Linked DNA regions of Homo sapiens: all the other regions are linked to region 1. The links are contacts of gene promoters, found by promoter capture Hi-C in blood cells and fetal thymus (Javierre and others, 2016). All regions are on one chromosome and are shown on one strand. Each heading gives the region's core, a stretch centred on a gene start or on the middle of the fragment in contact. The rest is flanking DNA. Distances are from core to core; before and after follow the strand shown.

The links. The method cuts DNA at HindIII sites, captures the fragments that hold promoters and counts their contacts. A CHiCAGO score of 5 or more calls a contact.
Region 2: a fragment that was not itself captured here is called in contact with the fragment with the promoter of SDHAF4 in region 1 in 1 of 17 cell types (non-activated CD4 T cells); the score reaches 5.5 in non-activated CD4 T cells.
Region 3: a contact is called between a fragment that was not itself captured here and the fragment with the promoter of SDHAF4 in region 1, in 1 of 17 cell types (total CD8 T cells). The highest score is 5.2, in total CD8 T cells.
Region 4: a fragment that was not itself captured here is called in contact with the fragment with the promoter of SDHAF4 in region 1 in 6 of 17 cell types (non-activated CD4 T cells, activated CD4 T cells, total CD4 T cells and 3 more); the score reaches 6.5 in non-activated CD4 T cells.
Region 5: a fragment that was not itself captured here is called in contact with the fragment with the promoter of SDHAF4 in region 1 in 1 of 17 cell types (naive CD8 T cells); the score reaches 5.1 in naive CD8 T cells.

What each region holds. Positions count from the first base shown.
Region 1 is chr6:70,565,469-70,568,321 of GRCh38, reverse strand. It overlaps SDHAF4 (succinate dehydrogenase complex assembly factor 4), which reads right to left and starts at 1,392. Exons shown (of 3, transcript NM_145267.3): 1 at 1,318-1,392. The coding sequence starts at 1,381. RefSeq lists a silencer at 1,045-1,104. The HindIII fragment of the contact is 5,796 bases long and covers 1-2,091 here.
Region 2 is chr6:70,363,784-70,366,636 of GRCh38, reverse strand. All of the region lies in intron 1 of LOC105377848 (a long non-coding RNA gene), which reads left to right. Among named protein-coding and RNA genes, the nearest start is that of LINC01610, 29 kb to the left of the region's middle. The HindIII fragment of the contact is 3,427 bases long and covers 1-2,853 here.
Region 3 is chr6:70,727,298-70,730,150 of GRCh38, reverse strand. All of the region lies in intron 1 of SMAP1 (small ArfGAP 1), which reads right to left. Among named protein-coding and RNA genes, the nearest start is that of SMAP1, 61 kb to the right of the region's middle. The HindIII fragment of the contact is 3,512 bases long and covers 1-2,853 here.
Region 4 is chr6:70,706,851-70,709,703 of GRCh38, reverse strand. The region is part of intron 1 of SMAP1 (small ArfGAP 1); the gene reads right to left. Among named protein-coding and RNA genes, the nearest start is that of SMAP1, 40 kb to the right of the region's middle. The HindIII fragment of the contact is 1,411 bases long and covers 752-2,162 here.
Region 5 is chr6:70,429,686-70,432,538 of GRCh38, reverse strand. All of the region lies in intron 4 of FAM135A (family with sequence similarity 135 member A), which reads right to left. Among named protein-coding and RNA genes, the nearest start is that of FAM135A-AS1, 17 kb to the right of the region's middle. The HindIII fragment of the contact is 4,816 bases long and covers 1-2,853 here.

The DNA of each region.
Region 1 (2,853 bases), core at 143-2,642:
TTACATGTGTGCTACGTGTGTGTGTGTGTATACATATATATATATGGAATAATTCATAATTGTTTAAAACTAGTTAAAGGGGGATGTTGAATGAACCCTACAAAATTTTAACGTTATTACCTTGAGGTTTGGATAATGTAGGACTTTCACTTTCTGTATTATTCATTTCTGGACTATTTAAAACTTATACAATTAAGTAAAATGTTTGTATTTGGGTAAAATGATTGCACAAAGGAAAACAAATTGCATAGAAATCTGGCACCATTTGAGGGCAATAATTACTGTTTTCAACTTACATAACTTCTCCAGGTGTCATATATTAAAATTATGTTTTGCGGACCGGGCGCGGTGGCTCACGCCTGTAATCCCAGCACTTTGGGAGGCCGAGGCGAGCGGATCACAAGGTCAGGAGATCGAGACCATCCTGGCTAACACGGTGAAACCCCGTCTCTACTAAAAATACAAAAAATTAGTCAGGCACGGTGGCGGGCGCCTGTAGTCCCAGCTACTCAGGAGGCTGAGGCAGGAGAATGGCGTGAACCTGGGAGGCAGAGCTTGCAGTGAGCCGAGATTGCGCCACTGCACTCCAGCCTGAGGGACAGAGCGAGACTCCATCTCAAAATAAATAAACAAATAAATAAATAAATAAATAAAATTATGTTTTGCATAGTCTGGGCTGCTAACTGTATTATCTTGAGAAAAATTTCCAACAACAATGGGTTTAAAAATGTTGGTTTTACTGAAAGCATGAATGCTTTTTCTGTACTGACAATTCCTGGCTTCATCTAATTTACGTTATACTTATTTGCCTTTGGCTCACTTCTGCACTTTTCCCATTTTTAAAAGATAAACTGTAAACTGCCACAAATCCTTTTCTGCTGGAGCCTGGACCAGGAGCGCGGATTCCTGTAAATAATGATGTAAATAAATAAGTAAATCAATGACTCCCATTCCCAAAGGGCCTTCTTTTCCATTTTTCTCTGGGGCATCGAAGTGCGGTGTGCCCTGCGAGCTCCCACAGGAACAACCCGGAACGTTTGTGGTCCTGTTGGGCCACCGCGTGCTCGGTAGGAAGCGGACGTCCCGGGGGCTGAAAGGGCCTTAGCGATTTTCTCGCTCTAGTCCCACCCGAGACCCGGGGCGCTGCAGGAACCTGCCCAGGCCACCGGGTGGGCGGCTGGGCGGGAGAAGCTGGGCAGCCCCTGGCAACACCGAACGGCCAGGACACACGCGGCTTCCTCCGCGGGAGGCGCTTCTCTCTGCGCCTGGGCCTTCACGACCCCTCCCGCGACCGTGGCCCCGAGGCCAGGTGCTTACTTGCCGCTCTCCACGCCGTGGCCGAGACCCAGCTAAGCAACCAGGGAAGCCTCGATGGGGTCATGGCGCCGACTCCCCGAGCCTCCGCGCAGGCGCAAAGCAGTAGTGGGAGGAGCAGGGGGCATGATCCGGAGCCTCCCTGCAGAGGGCGGGGCCTCCGTGGCCGGCTTTAGAAAAGGAGTTAGAGGCATCCCTGGGCTCTTTGGCCAAGAGAGACCCAGGCTACCTTGAGCCCGGTGTTAAAACGCCAAATCGTGGCTGCAGTTAGAAGAGGGAATAATTCCGTTCCGTTCATGCTTGTCAGTCTGAGCCGAAATGGCCCGTGGAAGATCCCTTTTATAGTTTACAAAGATTGAGCACCTTTTACTCTCTCACTCATGTAAAATGCTTCTTTTACCTAATTCTCCCTGTTTTGTGTTTTAAATCTTTGTTCAGTCAGCTCCTAGTTCGTCCATTCTGACCGACTAACCAGATGATATGAAAGGCGACATTTTTGAATGAGGTGCAAAGCAAGAAAAGGCTCTCCATCCAGGCCAGGATCCAGTGCAATGAGCTCTGCCCCTTAACCCTTACATCCCACCAGCTCTGATAGCGTTGAGTGGATGTGGCAGACCTGGATGCTTTGTGCAACTCGTGGAAATATTTACAGAATCATAGTGAAGGCCCCCAGAATTCTGGAATTTTGTCTTTTCTTTTAAAGAAAAGTTTCTGGCTAGCTATTGCGCCTTGGTAGTGTCTGACCATGTGACATCAAGTGGTTATACGATCGAAGCTTCTTATCATGAACTGAGAATTATCTGGTTCTCCTAGATAAGGAGATCCTTTTACGAAGAGAAAGTGGGCCGGGCAAGGTGGCTCACTCCTGTAATCCGAACACTTTGGGAGGCCGAGGCGGGTAGATTACCTGAGGTCAGGAGTTCGAGACCAGCCTGGCCAACACTCTACTAAAAATACAAAAATTAGCCGGGCGAGGTGGCACATTCCTGTAATCCCAGCTACTTGGGAGGCTGAGGTAGAAGAATCGCTTGAACTCGGGAGGCGGAGATTGCAGTGAGCAGAGATCACGCCACTGCACGCCAGCCTTGGAGACAGAGCAAAACTCCATCTCAAAAACAGAAAAAGAAAAAAGAGAGAAAGTGGGATACACAGAACTGGGCCAAAGTCAAAACGGAAACAGTTTTCATTTGTAGGGAGCTCACAGTCCTAATATCATGCTTTTGACCTTTAGCTTATATCTACAGTTTAATAATGAATTCCTTGTGACTAGCTGACTGAGGAAAAAATTCAAAGTCGGATGATGGCTTTGCTCAATAAACTGGCCCAGCTGGCAACTGACTGCTTTTCATATTTAGAGCCCCACTTAACAGAGGCCCTGAAGGAACAGAACAGGGAAAAAAAATTATTTCCAGCATGCATAATTTAGCTTATTTATGTATTTTATGTTTTTACAGGCACATGTCACCACACCTGGCTGATTTTTCTATTTTTAGTAGAGACAGGGTTTCGCCATGTTGACCAGGCTGGTTTCAAACTCCT
Region 2 (2,853 bases), core at 266-2,765, 200 kb after region 1:
GTAAATATCCCCTGTTATACACATTGAGGAGGCATTACAAGTTTTTAAATCTGGGAATGACATGATGAAGATAATGCTTTAAGGAGGTGTTTAGTTTAGACAGGGGCTGGGAACTCTAAAGAGCTAGGAATTCTGGGTGTAAGGTGATGTGGGGCTTGAATAGAGTGTGAGACAGTGTGAGTGAAAGAAGTGGGCAGATATGAGATATTCGAAAGGAAGGAGAGAGGGGCTTGATTATTAACTGTATGAAAACCAATAGATAATTATTCTGTACTCTTGAAATAAGATCCCTGAAGATGCTAAAGTCTGATCTGTTGATAAGATAACTGACACAAAACCCACCACCTGTTTTTAAAGAGTGATATTGTCACATATAAAATAAATTAATATTTCCAAATCTGTTGAGGGATTTATTGGGAACAGTCAGTTTGCATGGCTACATGTCCACTGACTTGGTCACTGTGGGTTTGGGAATTTAGTGGGAGGGAGCAGAAGTAGAAGGAAAGTGTATCTTACAACTTAACAAAAATTTTAAACTGGTAACTTTCCCTTCCTCCCTCTATCCCTCCTTTTCTTATTTTCTTCCCATCTCTTTAATATAAGGCAGAATATATTTTTCTGTAAATTGTTTTTAAAACCTTTTTTTTCAAATGCTATGTATCTTTTTCTTCTATTTGATGCTCAATTCAAACAAAATCTCTTTCTGTAAAACCTATGCATAATGCTGTTGGACTTCTGTTGAGTTCAGGTTGGTAAGCTCTCTCATACCTCAGTAATTCCAAATCTGAATTTATGATATTGCTAGTGTGCATGGAGCATGAATAACTCTGTCTAGTACTGCATTAAAAACATGTAAGATTTAGAAGATATCAGGCTTAGCATAAATTAAGAATAGGTATTACATGTGGCCTGTAGGGATAAAGCCGAATAAATTTAAGTGTGTGAGAGAAGATTAATATAAGCTCAGTCACTTGGAAATTGCTTTGATTACACTTCTGTCAGAAGGTGGCTAAAAATGGTCCCTTTTGCGGCTTATTACATTTTCTGCAACTTTCAATCATTTCCCCCTTCTGTTTTTTGGTTTCTTCTCCCATTTCACTTTCCTTTGCTCTTGTCTCTGAGCAAAGACACCTTCTAAGATGTATCTCTTCATTTGAGTCCTTAATCTCAACCTTTCACTTCTCTTCATGAGAACAGATCTGTCTATTAGCTCCCCTGTTTCTTGCATTGCCTGTTTCTTTCTTTACTGGTTCCTTCTCAACTATTTATAAGCAAGCTCACACAACTTGTTATTCTCTCATACAATCATTCTCTCTTCTTCCTTTCTCTGTTTAGATATCTCCAGTGTAGCCCATTCTTTGCCTCCTGTGCCTCACTTCCAGATCTATTTTTGTCTTAATCACAATAGGCTAGATTATGTCATAATAACAAAAAACTGCTGAGCTCTCAATGGCTTAATGAAACAGAGACATATCTCCCTTTACATTGCAGTCTGTTGCAGGCTGGCCTGGTAGCTCTCCTACACCACTTCCCTTCCAGCGGCAACCCAGGGGCCAGGCTGCATCCAGCTTAACACTGCCATGTTGGAGTTGAGTGCTTTGTGTTTAATCAGCTAGCCTTAGGAGAGAGTCAACATGCAGAAGTCACACTTGATTTTAACTGCTATACCAGAAGGGACACCTCATCTCCCCTACATTCCATTGGTGAGAACATGGAAATTTGATGAACACTACTGGTTTTGGTCTCAGCCACTATTTCCATTTGTTCAATATCATATTTCTGCTCCTATGGATACAACGATAGAGGCAGGAGGCAGAGAAATTCTAGGCAGAAAGGGCGGGTCCCTGGCAAATGCCCCACCCTCCAGCTGAAAAGCCTGAAACCGCAGCCAGAAGTGAGAACTTACATCCCTGTTTTCCCACTTGAATGTTGCCTTTTCCAAAACCACTCATTGCCTGCCCTGCCCTCCATCCTGGGCTTATAAAAAACCTCATACCCAGCTGACAGAGAGAGGAGAAGCAGCTGGACATCAGAGACTATAGCTGGATGTCGGGGAGAAGCGGCTTGATTCCAGAGGGACAGCTTGACCGTGTAACTTGGGAGAAGAATCTGGTTGGAGACTCCTGGACTTCAGGAGAAGATTACCTTCCAGCTCTGTCCCCTTTTCAGCTCCCCTTCCCACTGACAGCCATGCCCATCGGCAATAAAATTTCCCACATTTACAATCCTTCAATTTGTTCATGTGACCTCATTCCTCCTGGACGCCACAGAAGAACTCAGGAACCACGAGTGCAGATACAAAAGGCTGTCACACTGACCCTTTGCCCTCTCTGGCAAAAGGCAGCTGCCTCACACCAAAAGGTAGAGGGTCCACTGAGCTGTTAACACTTAAGCTGTCTGTGGACAGCAGCACTAAAAGAGCACTGTAACACTCCCTCTGGGACTTCAGGGGTCACAGGTACCCTCCCAGATGTTGCTGTTGGGGCCTGCACAGACTTTGCTCCTGCTCACACCCAAAAGTGCTTGCCCTGGCTCCTGCACCTGCTCACCTGCATGCGCCTTCCCACGAGGGGTGGAGCGCAGTGGCTCCAAGTGAGTGGAATTTGCCACTGCCAGCACTGAAGTGGCTGGCTAGTTCCAGTGCCCGGGCACACAATTTCCCACCTTATTCGCTTGCGTGCTCCCTCCTGCGAGGAGTTGAGAACTGCAGGCTGAGGAAACAAGGCACCCCCTTTGTGAGTCCCATGAAGGGGCCAGGGAAATATCCTGCTTCACTACCTCTTTGAAAGAGTGAAATAACACACAGTGGCCTGGGTACCTCCACATCCTTCACGATGCAGCTGACTAGAGGTC
Region 3 (2,853 bases), core at 203-2,702, 160 kb before region 1:
TTGAGCCCAGGAGTTCAAAGGTCCTTTGAGCTATGGTGGTACCACCGCACTCTAGTCAGAAAAAAAAGGAGGGTCAGGGGGAGAAGGGAGAGAGAAGGGAAGCAGAAATGCACAGTGAATTCTAGATCAGTGTCTCTCAAACCCTAATGTGCATGCACATCAACTGGAAATATCATGAAAATGAAGACTCTTAATTCTGTGACCCCCAGAGTAGCTCCTAAGGTTCTGCATTCTAACAAGTTCCCAGTGATGCCCATGCTGCCATCCACAGATGACATTTTGAAGAGCAAGGTTCTAGAGCATTCTCCACAATCTTTAACTCAAGCATTCAACACACTTCCTGATTTGCTTTCACATAACTAACGTAATTAAGGGACTGATAAATGTGGCAGCAGTAAGAATGGAAACGAACAAATATGAAATCACCAGGAAGAACTGACAGGGCTTACTCATAGAAAATACAGTGGCAAAGGAGAAGGTAGAGGCCAAAATGCAAGTTCTGCACCTAGGATATAAAGCATGAGGGTCCTCGTGGAGTCAGAAAACTGCAGGAGATCCATTGAATGCTTTAAATGATAGTGATACACCAAGATGAAAATGTCTGGCAGGCGATTTAGAATATAGGACTAAAGTTCAAACTGGATACATACACACATACACACACACACACACACACACACACACACACACAACCTTCTTTTTTTTTTTTTTTGAGACGGAGTCTCGCTCTGTTGCCCAGGCTGGAGTGCAGTGGCGTGATCTCGGCTCACTGCAAGCTCCACCTCCCAGGTTCATGCCATTCTCCTGCCTCAGCCTCCTGAGTAGCTGGGACTACAGGCGCCCGCCACTTCGCCCAGCTAATTTTTTGTATTTTTAGTAGAGACGGGGTTTCACCATGTTAGCCAGGATGGTCTTGATCTCCTGACCTCGTGATCCGCCCGCCTCGGCCTCCCAAAGTGCTGGGATTACAGGCATGAGCCATCACGCCCAGCCTCACACCTTCTTTTAAGATGAGAGTTGCAGTATCAAGAACAAAAAGAGCAAAAAAGCACAGTACTAAATCTTAGGGAGAAAATGAAAGGCAGTAAAAGTAGAGAATGAGGTCGTTTCAAAGAAAAGCTGTTTTCAAAAACAGGGAAAAAAAAAAGATGTTCAATAGTATCAAATATTCCAAAGAAGTCAAGAGTAATTGGGCTAAGAAAGAACATCTGGATGTGGTAACTGAGGCTGAAAAGTATTAGGTAACCTCAGAGATTAGGCAGAGCAAAAGGGAGGGAGCTCATCCACTCTGAATTCATTATCAGAAGAAGAGGGAGAAAGATAATTCACCCAATCTGAATTCCATTACCAGTTTACACTCTCGCACCATTTCAGTTTCCAACTCCAAACCTTTAACAGTTTCCTGTTTTCCTCTATATTAGATTATAGGAAATATTTATCTCCTGTAAATGTCTACACTCATAACAGCATGTGACACAGAATGTGCCACAATAGGCATCTACTCTTTTTTCATTTGTAATTAGTTCTGTCTCCTAAAGTAGATGGTAAAGTTCTCACTAGGAAGGCTCTTATATAACCTTCTGTATCACCTACAGTAAGGGAATCGACTGTATAATTTTAAAAATCTGCTAGATCTGATGACTCAGTCAAATACTCAAATGTTTTGATTCCTGAACAACTGATCTACTATTTTTAAAAATGGAAATAAATCTGAAAATTATGGCAAAAATCACTATCTTTAATATCAATTTTCCCATTCTTCCTTTAAGTAATAAAGGCTTCTGAATTTTACCTAGAAATGTGGCTGTCCTGATAGGAAGACTACATTTCTCAGCCTCTCCTGTAGAATGTAAACAGAAATGATATATTTTGCCATTAACCACACTGGGCCTGTGTTCCCCTGGCCTCTTCCCCTTTTCCATTTGCTAGGAGACAATAAGGAATGAACCTGCAACCTTGGATCCAATTACAAAAGCCCCATGGTGAAGATGACAGAACTACTCTACCCATACTGGACAGTTCATGTCCAGACCAATGTGAAGGAGAAATAAACTTCTACCCTGTTTAAGCCACTTTTTTTTTTCTTTGAGACAGGGTCTCACTCTATTGCCCAGGCTGGAGTGCAGTGGTGAAGATCTTGGCTCACTGAAATCTCTGCCTCCCAGGCTCAAGTGATCCTCCCACCTCAGCCTCACAAGTAGCTAGAACTACAGGCACATACCACCACGCCCAGCTAATTTTTGTATTTTTTGTAGAGACAGGGTTTCACCATGGTGTCCAGGCTGGTCTCAAACTTCTGGGCTCAAGCATTCCACTTGCCTCAGCCTCTCAAACTGCTGGGATTACAGGTATGAGCCACACTGCACACGGTCAGTGTGAATTACATTTGAATGTTGGTAACAGCAAACAGAACACACAATAGATTTAGCAATCCCTGATTTTAGAGCCCAAATTCTAAGACGGGTTAAAGAATAATAAAAGACTTTTTCATCAAACCTGAGTTTTCTAGATCCAATTTAAATCACCAGTTATCTATTATGTGTTTATTTTGACCGAAGTATTAAACGAAGATGACAAAACACAAATCCTGCCTTCAAGGAGCTTGAACTCTAATAATCATATAATGGTTATAGTAATAAGTACAAATGACACAGGAACATAGAAGAGGTAAAAATTAATGTCAGCCAACAATATTAATGGAGGCTTTGTAGAGACAGTGGCATTTGATGTGATTATTATGTGGGTTGGGCGCAGTGGCTCACGCCTGTAATCCCAGCACTTTGGGAGACTTAGGTGGGCAGATAACTTAAGGCCAGGAATTCAAGACCAGCCTGGCCAACATGGCCAAACTCC
Region 4 (2,853 bases), core at 208-2,707, 140 kb before region 1:
AGGCCCCAAGTAGCCAAAACAATCTTAAGAAAGAAAAATAAGGTTGCAGGCATCACACTTCTTGATTTCAAATCATATTATAGGATGGGTGCAGTGGCTCACACCTATAATCCCAACACTTTGGGAAACTGAGCTAGGAGGATTACTTGTGCCCAGGAGCTTGAAACCAGCCTGGGCAACACAGACCTGTCTCTACAAAAAATTTAAAAATTAACCAGGCACAGTGGCACACACCTGCAGTCGCAGGCTCAGGTGGGAGGATCACTTGAGCAAGGAAGTCAAGGCTACAATGAGCCATGATCGTGCTACTGTATTCTAGCATGGGCAACAGAGCGAGAGCCTGTCTCAAAAGAAAAAAAAAGTATTATAAAGCTATAGTAATCAAAACAATATGGGCATATTGTTTATGGTATGGGCATGAAAATAGACACAGACTAATGAAACAGCATAGAAAGCCAGAAATAAATCCAAGCATATATGGTCAAGTAATTCCTGACAAGCCCGCCAAGAAGACACAATGGCGGAAGTACAGTCTCTTCAACAAATGGGGTTGGGAAAACTAAATATCTAATGCAAAAGAATGAAACTGGACCCTTATACCACACACACACACACACAAAAACCTCCTTAGAAGAAAATATAGGGAAAAGCTCCTTCATACTGGTCTGGACTGATTTTCTAGATATCACAGCGAAAGCTCAAGCCACAAAAGCAAAAATAAACAAGTGGGACTACATCAAACTAAAAAGCTTCTGCAATGCAAAGGAAACAATCAACAAAATGAAAAGGCAGCCTACAGATTGGGGCAAAATATTTGCAAACCATCTCTCTGTTAAGAAATTAATATCTAAATTTTTTTTAAAACTTACTAGCAAAAAACAAAACCAAAAAAACACTTACTTAAAAACGGGCAAAGGACCTGAATAGACATTTTTCCAAAGAAGGCATAAAAATAGCCAATACATATATCAGAAAGTACTCAACATCATTAGTCATCAGATAAATGCAAATCGAAACCACTGTGTAATATCACTTCACACCTGTTAAGAAGGCTATTATCAAGAAGACAAGAGATAACAAGTGTTAGAAAGGTGTAGAGAAAAAGAAACCCTTATATACTATTGGTATGAATGTAAATTGGTACAGCTATTATGGAAAGGAGTATGCAGATTCTTCAAAAATTTAAAAATAAAATTACCATAGGCCAAGCAATTCCTCTGATTTCCCTAAAGGAAATGAAATCAGCACTTCATAGAGACATCTGGACTCCCATGTTCATTGCAGCATTTTTTCCCAATAGTTAAGATGGAAATGACCTAAGTGTTTGTCCATCAACGGATGAATGAACAAAGAAATTATGGTGTATACATACAATGGAATATAATTCGGCCTTGGGGGAAAAAGGGAGAACCCACCACTTGAGACAACAGGGATGAATCTGGGGGACATTATGGTTAGTAAAATAAGCCAGATATAGAAAGAAAAATATTGTATAATCTCACGTATATGTGAAATCTAGGGAGAAAAGTAAACAGAAACAGAGAGTAGAATGATGGTTACCAGGCGCAGGAAAGGAGAGGAAACAGGAAGAGGGAGGTCAAAGGGTACAAATTTACAGCTATGTAAGATTGCTAAGTCTAGAGATATAATGTTCAGCATAAGGACTATAGTTATACACTGCAGTGTTACTACACTGCAATATACTGAAAACTTGCTGAAAGAGTAGGTTTTAGGTACTCCTACCATGCCAAAAATGTTGACTATGGAAAGTGGTGGATATGTTGATTTGTTTGACTGTAGAAATCATTTCACTATATATGTGTATCAAAATGTCATGCTGTACAGCTTAAATACATGCAATAAAAAATAAATTTTAAAGCCTGGCCAACATGTAGACATAGTGAAACCCCATCTCTACTAAAAATATGAAAATTAGCTAGTGTGGTGGCATGCGCCTGTAGTCCCAGCTACTCAGGAGGCTGAGGCAGGAGAATCACTTGAACACAGGAGGTGGAGGTTGCAGTGAGCTAAGATCCCACTACTGCACTCCAGCTTGGGTGACAGAGTGAGACTCTGTCTCAAAAATAAATATAAATAAATAAATAAATGTTTAAAATGTGTTACATTAACAATATTAGGTTTCAGATGTCTATTTTCAAGCTTTTTTAAATGCCAAAATAGTTTGCTTTTGAAAATATGTGTTTAGTTTTCTTTTCGCAAAGGCAACAGTAAAAGACCTTTACTGTTATGTTAATTAACAGATCATGCTCTCAATAGCTTTCAGGCTGACTTTCAACATACATCAATTTTGCCTACCATTCCTTTTAGCTAAAAAAAAAGTTAATGAGGATAATATAAAAGTTTTATTTAGGATTACCAATTTAAGATTAACATCCTTTATTACTGAAATAATAAATCACATTCATGAAAAGAGAAAGAATGGACACAAGTGAATATATTCAGAGATGATGTTTATTTATTTTGTTAAACAAATCAAGCTCAAATGTTCCATGCTTATGTGATCAAAATATGACAAAATCTCATGAATCCAAATTCCAGTACATCATAATTGGAATAAAGTTACTCTAATAGTATAAAACTAACATATAACAAGAGAAACCATTAATGTCAAAAACAGCTGATACATAAAAACTATTGATAAAAATCAAAGAAAAACCCAGAATAAGGAAGGACAAACATATGTGGCAAAATACAAAACAGCTATATTCCTAATCCTAAATTTTATTCTAACATCATTCTAATGACTAATGATTAAATTCCAGAAACTATATTAAACACTGGCTTATTTGATATATCCTGGGGCTATACATTAGCAACTCATTTATTCTACTT
Region 5 (2,853 bases), core at 107-2,606, 140 kb after region 1:
TAACAATGTTTTGTTAAGTTCATTATAAGAATGGTCTTCAAGAAAGACAGAAAGTTGCAAAGGGCCACAAAAACATATTCTCACAGATGAACAGGAAAAGCGCTTTACTTAACAAATTTAATTTTGCTCTTCTATAAGTTATTTTTCAAGTGTAATAATAATGTAGATCCTTTTCCTGCTTTGATCTAGCATAAAAATGAACTATAATAGTAATAAATCTTTTATAAGTAGTCATAAGAGAAAGAGATGCTCTTTAGTATCTTTACAGAAGTGCAGCAGGTAGAGATTAAGTATACATCTATTTTTTCCATTGTCAGAAAACTTGAATTTATTTTTTTAGAGGAAGAATAAAATACTGAGGTTAGTGGCTAAAAGAATGTGTTTGTGAATATTAAGTTATTACATTTCTATCCTCTATTCTTTAGAACACATTTATAGCATTGATTGTTAATACACAACACCGTGTTAAAATTGTATGAGGTAAAACTTAACATGATTTTATTAAGCAAAGTGATTTCACATCATGACTTTTTTGTCTAAAGAGTAACACTGTTTTACTTGGAAAGAACAATTTTACATGTTGATATTATGTTTATATTACACATTAAAATATTTTATAATTTTATAATGATATATTTTATATATAGGTCAGAGGACACTACATATATTTGAAAACTATTTTATAAACAGTAATGGTTTCCAAATAATCATTTTTTTCATGAATACAACTTAAGCAAGCAATTTGTTTTCTAGCTAGTCTTCAAATCTAACTCCAATACTGAATTGCTTTTTACACATTTAGCTTGTCAAAATCATGTTGTTAAAAACAAACCTACAAAATGTAACCTGTAGATTGATTTTAAAAATGTCACCTATATTTTGCTCTTCCTTATATTCAGACCTCTTACAGTGTGACTCCCATTAAGAAGTGGAGTGTAGTTGCCCACCTTTTAAATGTGGGCTGGCCTTACTTATGACTTGCTTTGGCCAGTATCTTGTGGTGGAGGTGTAACAGTGCATCATTTCCAAGCCTAGATGATATGAGGTCTGCTGGCATGGTTTCTCTCTTCTGTGGACCCATGCCTTGTCCATGAGAATAAGCTGCAGGATGAGAGACTGTGAAACAGAACTGAGACTGCCCAGCTGAGGCCACTCTGCATCCAGCTAGTGCCCGGCCAATCTGCCATCTGACTGTGCATTCATGAAGTGAGCCCAGCAAAGATGAGCCAAGCCACCCTAGATCAGTAGAACCGTTGAGATGATCCACAGACTTAGGAGCAAAAATAAATGTTTATTGCCATAATGCCATTGAGTCTTTGTGTTTGTGGTTAGCTGCATTATTGTGACAATAAACAATACAGAAATCGATACCTAGAAGTGGTGTGTGCCATAACAAAAACTTAAAATAAGTGGCATTAATTCTGGGGCCAAACTAACAGTTACAGCTACAAATGGTGGAAAAATAATGAGGAAACTATAGGAGATGAGGAAAATGGTAACCATGTTATGGAGTGATGTAATATGCTATCTTACACTAACCTGGAATAATTCAGAAAATGTATCTAAGAAACTTTTGGACTTAGCAAATTAATTTCCAAGCAGAATACCAAAAACGCCAACTGGTTGCTCCTAGCTAAGTATAAGGTTCTGCAAGATAGAGATGAACTAAAGAAAGAGCTAGTCATTTTATAAGCAGAATCTAGAAGAAATCTAGAGCAACTAGAACTTGCTGGGTTGGAAAATAAAACTGTTTCATCTGCAGTCTCCTGAAAATAAAACAAAGCCCTTGAACAAAGATCAACTCAAGGATGTAGCTGTAGCTTCCTTTCTTAAGATCACTAAAAGAATTAAGATGTAAGCAGACGTTCTCAGCATGACAAAAGGATTTTTAGAAAGTTGATGGGCATGATCCCACAGAATTCTAATCCCCAAGTAGCAGAGATTGGTAGATATGCTATCTAGAGAGCAAGCATGTCTCAAAAACAACTGTGGCTGTGGGCTTTAAAGCATGGAATAAACTTATCAGCCATATGGACAGTCCACAAAGTTTTTTAAGTGAATTGTACTGGCCAAAAAGCCACCAGCCTGACTCGTGACCTCGCACTGTGACTTGCTTGGCCAATGGAATGCAGTGGAAGTAACAGTGTGTCAATTGAAGGAGACTTGCATCTTCTGCTCTCTTTCTTTTTTTGTTTTTTTTTTTAGATAGAGTCTCACTCTGTTACCCAGGCTGGAGTGCAGTGGCACCGTGTCGGCTCACTGAAACCTACGTCTCCTGGGTTCAAGCAATTCTTCTGCCTCAGCCTCCCGAGTAGCTGGGATTACAGGCGTCCACCACCACACCTGGGTAATTTTTATATTTTTAGTAGAGATGGGGCTTCACCATGTTGGCCAGGCTGGTCTCGAACTCCTGAACTCTGGTGATCTGCCCGCCTTGGCCTCCCAAAGTGCTGGGATTACAGGCGTGAGCCACCGCACCCGGCCTTCTGCTCTCTATCTCAGACTCTTGTCTCCACCATGAGAACAAGTCCAGGCTGGCCTGCTAAGAAATTAGAGACCATATAGAGCAGACCACAGCACAGGCACAGCTGTTTTTATTTTTTCAACAAGATGGCAAGGTCAAGGCAAAAAAAAAAAATAGAGAATCTCTTGCTCTACTTCTTCTGTTAGTCCCACTGCCACCACTCTTTGTATAGATCTCCAGATTTATATCTTGAGTTACTATCAAGTGCCTCTAAACTGTTTCCTAGGTTTCTATTTCTTCTACACAACCATCAGTCTAATGTATCATAATATCCATCATGTTAGTAAGTGCTTATTGTAATAATAGTGATAAAATTTTATCCTTACTTA